Regions from separate parts of the Homo sapiens genome. Here region 2 is linked to region 1. The links are contacts of gene promoters, found by promoter capture Hi-C in human tissues and cell types (Jung and others, 2019). All regions are on one chromosome and are shown on one strand. The core of a region is centred on a gene start or on the middle of the fragment in contact, and the rest is flanking DNA. Distances in the headings are between cores, read along the strand shown. Region 1 holds the start of ZNF418 (zinc finger protein 418). Region 2 has its middle 19 kb from the start of ZNF135.

Evidence for each region. Contacts are between HindIII fragments. The study calls those that stand out against the background at their distance.
Region 2: a contact is called between a fragment that was not itself captured here and the fragment with the promoter of ZNF418 in region 1, in 2 of the 25 tissues and cell types used here (bladder and heart right ventricle).

Annotation. Positions count from the first base shown.
Region 1 is chr19:57,934,019-57,937,529 of GRCh38, reverse strand. It overlaps ZNF418 (zinc finger protein 418), which reads left to right and starts at 2,128. Exons shown (of 6, transcript NM_133460.3): 1 at 2,128-2,369. RefSeq lists enhancers at 2,161-2,250, 1,843-2,725. The HindIII fragment of the contact is 9,006 bases long and covers 1-3,511 here.
Region 2 is chr19:58,076,573-58,079,898 of GRCh38, reverse strand. No RefSeq gene overlaps it. Among named protein-coding and RNA genes, the nearest start is that of ZNF135, 19 kb to the right of the region's middle. The HindIII fragment of the contact is 6,468 bases long and covers 1-3,326 here.

The DNA of each region.
Region 1 (3,511 bases), core at 879-3,378:
TCCCAGCACTTTGGGAGGCCACCTCGGGTGGATCACCTGAGGTGAGGAGTTTGCGGCCAGCCTGGCCAAAATGGTGAAACCTTGTGTCTACTGAAAATACAAAAATTAGCTGAGTGTGGTGGCAGGCACCTGTAATCCCAGCTACTTGGGAGGCTGAGGCAGGAGAATGAATTGCTTGACCCAGGAGGAGGAGGTTGCAGTGAGCTGAAACTGTGCCATTGTACTCCAGCCTGGACAACAAGAGTGAAACTCCTTCTCAAAACAAACAAACAAACAAACAAACACCTGTAAAGTCAGCTGGGAGCAGTGACTTATGCCTGTAATGTCAGCATTGTGGGAGAAGGAGGCAGGCAGGTCAGAGGTCAAGAGTTTGAGACCAGTCTGGCCAACATGGTGAAACCTTGTCTCTACTAAAAATACAAAAATTAGCTGGGCGTGGTGGCAGGCATCTGTTATCCCAGCTACTTGGGAGACTGAGGCAGGAGAATCGCTTGAACCCGGGAGGTGGAGGTTGCAGTGAGCCAAGATGGCGCCACTGCACTCCAGTCTGGGACAGAACGAGACTTTGTCTCAAAAAAAAAAAAAAAAAAAAAGAAAGAAAAACTTCTGTGAAGTGTAAATTTTTTTCACCATCCACTCATGTTTCAATTGACCTATTTCTGTCATCGCAGTTATTAGATAGTCGTTGGTAATAAGTTTCTGTAACTGGCATTTCACCTGTTTTTCTGGTATCATATTAGTTCCTCATGCAGAACACTCCCCGCTGTCACAAGAGAAACAAATGATAATCACTTCCCAGGAAAGATAACAAGCTCGATAATTTAACATACGCCTAGTGTCTCCAGGTGGAGATTATCACCACCATTACCAATACCAAGCTGAGATTTCTCTTTCATTGTTCTTTACCTGAGACTGACTTCAAGTTCCTAAAATGAGTTGAAAATATAAGTTAGAATACCAAGTAAGGGATATTACATGAATAAATGTTTTGCTGAATGAATTGGACACAATAATTGACTATATAAGCAGGAGAGTTGTTTTTCCATGGGAACGACTGATTGACCTTTGTACTCTTTCTTTAGCCTCTCCTCTATCTTCCTTGGCATGGTCCTATCTGGATTAGTTCTCTTTTGTCCCTGGCAGACTGAAAAACCAACTCTAATGCCTCAGAGTGAGGCAGGAGAATAGGGAATTAGGGTAACCAAGAATGAAGGCATAAGCAAAAGAACAGCAGGTGCAGCTAGTTCTAGGCAAGATGAGGCAGCACACAGGCCACGTCCTCACTCCTGTGGTAACAAGACAGAAGTCTCCACTTCAGCCTCTGATTGGTTGTGCACCAGTCCTTCATAGGATTGGAGGCCTTTAAAGAACTCTTGGGGTATTATAAAATTCTAGCTTATTCATGGCAAAAACCGCAATTACTTTTGCACCAACCTAATAAAACCCTAAAAAACATTGTAATCGGGGTTCTTGAGCCGCTTGGTCGCCTGCTCCCACACCTACATTCCACTTCTGTGGAGTGTACTTTCCCCTCAATAAATCTGCGCTTTCATTGGTCCGTTCTTTCGTTGCTTTTTTTGTGTGTTTTGTTCACTTCTTTGTTCAATGCGCCAACAACTGGACAACTCACAGCCAAGACATTCTATCCGGTAACAAGAGTGCATTCATGTGAATTATAACAGAGTAATGTTTATCAGCCTCTGCTTCCAGTGCAAGCATTCTGTGTCTAAACGATTGTATAAAGTGATACACGAATTTGGATTTGTAGCCTTTGGGGGCCTTCACAGTATTTTTAGCGCCTGGGAGCTTGAATTTACAGAAATGTGAATTAATATTTTTGCAAACACTTAGGTGGTCAGTTACAAACAGGGATTCCCCAGGAATCTCAATATGGCCTCTAAGGAGGGGCGAGACCATCCTCTGCCCTAAAAGGGTACGCGCTTTAATGAACCCCCTGAGGTAGGGCTGGGACTTCCCTGCAGAAGCGCCTTTGGGAAGCGGCAGCTTTACTACCTTGGAACCTGGGGAACTACATTACCCAGAAAGCTCTACATTGAATGACAGCGCAACAGAACCAGTAAGGGCTCAGAATAAAGGCGTTTCTGTGTGCGCACGTAACGTAGTGGCGGGATTCTCAGCGTTCTCTGGTAGCGACCATTTTGGTTAATGTTGGGTGTGTTTCTGCGGTTTGTGAGGTGAGAGGCGCTGGAGCTATGGGTCCGAACCGCGGTGTCTGAACCCAGAAGGTGAAGAGTCCTTCTTGCTGCACAGAGGCAGATCTTAGGCCCCGTAACGGCGCCCGCCGCTCCCGGCAGTGCTTTCCCCGCGTACTCGGGATGGCGGCGGCCGCGCTGAGGCTCCCGGCTCAGGTAATTGTGCCTTCCCTGCCCTCAGGTCACCTCATCCTAACCCGAATCCTGAAGCAGCGAGAGAGCGGCGACTGTTCACAGGTCTGCAGCCCGGACCCGGCGTCGGGACACTGAGGCGTTCGCGGGAGAGGTCCTTGTTTCTGACACCTGTGGGATGCGGTGGGGAGAGCGACAGGCACAGGGACCGGCGCGGGCTATGGCCTGGAGGACAGACCCGGGAGGATGGAACCTGGGGTCCACAGGCGCCTGTAGGGAACAACGTGTGAGGCGAAGCTTCTCCTGGAAGAGCAGGCTGGGGGCTGTGTATTCGCTGTGAAGACGCTAGAAGCCATGGAGAGTTTCGAAGAAAGGAGGGATGCGATCCAAGTCCAGGCTTTTAAGGTTTCCCAAAGGCCAAAGGAAGAACATAGTAGAGGAGATGAGGACCTTAGGGTTCTGGGAGGTTGACTCCTTTGTTGATAGATCACATAGGTGGTAGAGATGACATTTTGCACTGAGACACGCAGGTCAACCAGTCTGAGGTCACCTGGCTCCAGCGATAAGAAAAGGTTCAAGGAGACCTGAGCTTATCAGATCCCCTTTGTAACGTCTGCTTTCCCCTCAGACACTCCTGGCTACAAAAGCACGTAAAGAACCCACTGAGGGGGTCGGGCAAGGTGGCTCCCACCTGTAATCCCAGCACTTTGGGAGGCCGAGGCGGGCGGATCACCTGAGGTCGGGAGTTCGAGACCAGCCTGACCAACATGGAGAAACCCCGTCTCTAACAAAAATACAAAATTAGCCAGGCGTGGTGATGCCGCATGACTGTAATCCCAGCTACTCAGAGGCTAAGGCAGGAGAATTGCTTGAACTCGGGAGGCAGAGGTTGCGGTGAGCCATTGCACTCCGGCCTGGGCAACAAGAGCGAAACTCTGGCTCAAAAAAAGGAACCCACAGAGGGAATTAGAGGGTGTTCCATTCCCTCACTGGCCTTATTCCCCATTCACATGTTCTCTAGCTTGTGATGTCCTGGGACTCTTACTTGCCATTTTTTCAGTCCTTTGATCTGAGAACACTGGAGAAACCCTAAACCCAGAATCCTAAGTCCATGACACAGGATGTATGGAGGTATTCCCATTTCTGTCAACCCATGTAAACATACT
Region 2 (3,326 bases), core at 602-3,101, 140 kb before region 1:
TGGCTCACGCCTGTACCAGCACTTCGGGAGGCTGAGGCAGGTGGATTACCTGAGGTCAGGAGTTCGAGACCAGTCTGGCCAATATGGTAAAACCCTATCTCTACGAAAAATTAGCCAGGTGTGGTGGCAGGCATCTGTAATCCCAGCTACTTGGGAGGCTGAGGCAAGAGAATAACTTGAACCTGGGAGGTGAAGGTTGCAGTGAACTGAGATCACACCACCGCACTCCAGCCTGGGCGACAGAGCGAGACTCCATCTCAAAAAAAAAAAAAAAAAAGAGATAGCAAGAGACGCCAGAGATTGCTCCCTCTCCATGCACACACAGAGGAAAGGCCATAGGCAGGTGCAGACACAGCAGGATGGCAACCATCTACAAGCTTGGAAGAGAGGCTTCACGTGGAACCCACTCTGACTTCCAGCCTCCAGAACAGGGAGAAAATATTAATAAATTCCTGTTGATTCAGCTTCCCAGCCTGTGGTATTTTGTGATCACAACCCAAGCAGACAAATACATGTCTGCCATCACTATTTGAGTTGAGGAGAGTTTTATGAATCAGTGTCAACTAGTGCAATCATTTTGGAAAGCTAACAGTCCAACTGTATTCAGTAACAATACGGGGCCAGGCACAGTGGTTCACACCTATAATCCCAACACTTTGGGAGGCCAAGGTGGGAGGATCCCTTGAGCCCAGGAGTTCAAGACCTCCCTGGGCAACATAGTGAGACCCCACTTTTTCCTCCACAAAAAGGAAAAAAAAGGACCAAAAATATATATATACACAAGGATGCTGGTTTGCATGAAGTTAAATACTATGACTTAAATATGAATGGTAGAGCCATTCAAAGCAATAGTAAAAAGGCATAAATGATAATTAAGACTAGCAAAATCGAAGAATTTTTTTTTTTTAGACAGAGTCTCGCTCTCGCTCTGTTGCCCAGGCTGGAGTACAATGGCGTGATCTCAGCTCACTGCAACCTCCGTCTCCCAGCTCCAAGCAATTCTCCTGCCTCAGCCTCCGGAGTAGCTGGATTACAGGTGCGCACCACCACACCTGGCTAATTTTTGTATTTTTAGTAGAGACGGGGTTTCATCATATTGGTCAGGCTGGTCTCAAACTCACGTCCTCATGATCCACCCGCCTCAGCCTCCCAAAGTGCTGGGGATTACAAGCGTTAGCCACCGCGCCCGGCGCTGGAAGAGTAATTTGTAAGTGTAGTTCAAGTAGAATGTAACTGTTGATTCTGTTGCAACTGTGTAAACAGTGGGCATTAGTTGTCAAATCCTAGCAGACAAAGTATAGAAATGCAAAGAGTAGTTGTGTTAGGGTCATGAAATTATGAGGACATTTATTTCAGTTTTTTAAATTCCTTTGAAAGTTTTTTTTGTTTTTTTTTTGAGACAGAGCCTCGTTCTGTCACCCAGGCTGGAGTGCAGTGGCACAATTTCAGCTCACTGGAAGCTCTGCCTCCCAGGTTCAAGCGATTCTCTCGCCGTGGTGTACTGAATAGCTGGGATTACAGGCCCCTGCCACCATGCCCGGCTAACTTTTGTATTTTTAGTAGAGATGGGGTTTCACCATGTTGGCCAGACTGGTCTCGAACCCCTGGCCTCAAGTGATCTGCCCACCTCAACCTCCCAAAGTGCTAGGTGTGAGCCACCGCGCCCAGCCATGGGCTTTTATAATAAAGTTCATTTTTCACCATTTTAAAAAGAATTCTCCCAATTATGTAAAAGTTAAAAACACAGATTCGGCCGGGCACTGTGGCTCATGCCTGTAATCCCAGCACTTTGACAGGCCCAGGTGGGAGGATCACCTGAAGTCAGGAGTTCAAGACCAGCTTGGCCAACATGGTGAAACCTTGACTCTAGTACAAATACAAAAAAATTACCTAGGCATGGTGGTGCGTGCCTGTAGTCCCAGCTACTTCAAGAGGCTGAGGCACAAGAATCATTTGAACCCAGAGGCAGAGGTTGCAGTGAGCCGAGATCGTGCCACTGCACTCCAGCCTGGGCAACAGACTACTCCTTTTGACATCTCAGTGTATTTATGTCTCCCAGTCATTTTTCAGGGTATGAGATGTGAGTATAATGTGTTTGGTATATGTGTAGTCTGCGTACATTCTAAGTGTGTCTCTTGGGTATCATGAAAAAATGAGTGAGGTGTCTGATGGGTCTCGGGAATACCCTGTGGACTTCCTTCAGGCAGATACAGAACAGGATAGGGTGATGTGCTTTTGATGCAAAGAAAGGCAGATACTCCATTCTGCCTACCCTGAGTCCAGTGAAGTCAGTGATTTATTAGTAGCTGTTCCTTCAACCTGAGAGGCTCCTGGGATGGGGCCACACTTGGGAACTATGGGCTTCGCAGACAAACTGCTTCAGGAAGTTTGGGCACAGTTCTCACTTGAGGCTTCCGGGTCTGTTTCAGAATCACCCAGTGCCTTGGTGTGCAGATTACCAAACCCCCTCGGACCAACCAAAGCAAGGTCCCAGGTTTAACACCCTCCACCTTCAGGTGGTTTTCACTCACATCAAAATGGGAGATCCATTACCCTTGGCAGTGCTGGGTTCTGTCTTCCCAGTGTCCATGCAGAAGTCTCTAAGACGAGGGTTGCTGGAACCAGGGGTCGATCCAGATTTGTTGGGCCTAAGGCTCACACAACTGAGGGGTCCCTCTTCAGAAGAATAATTCAAAATTACAAAGATAAAATTAGGCGCTTGGTCTTGAAGGGATCCCTGAAAGTGAGGGACCTAGAGTTTCAGCTTACTTTCATGGCAAATCCATGAAGCCAGAGCCTCAAAACATAGTGCAGCCCAGCCTTCCCTCAACTCGAGAGAACATGAATTTGTAGAAAGGTTCCCAGATGTCTCAATGAAATGAACAGCTTTCCAAAGTCCAGCCTCTGGCTGACCAGGTAGCTCTTGAGACACAGGCTCCTGAGGGACCAGCCACATGCGATGGGGGCAACTGCCAGGGAAATCTGCTCAGTGAGAGGGTGGCTTCTGGGACATGGTAAATCTAAGCTCCCCAGCTCCTCACCAAGGCCCCAGTACTGGGGAGGTCTCTCCAGCTGTGGCTCTGCCTGTCTTTTCACGGAGGTTTGCCCTGATGCCATGGTTTTAATGTGACGTCCCTCACCCCATTCACCAAACACAATAATCCCCAAGTTGTTATCATCTCTGGGCTGGTATTCATCTTATCACTTTTTTTTTTTTTTTTTTTTTTGAGACAAAGTCTTGCTCTTGTCGCCCAGGCTGGAGTGCAGTGGCACAATCTCGGCTCACTGCAAGCAATTCTTCTGCCTCAGCCTCCCGAGTAGCTGGG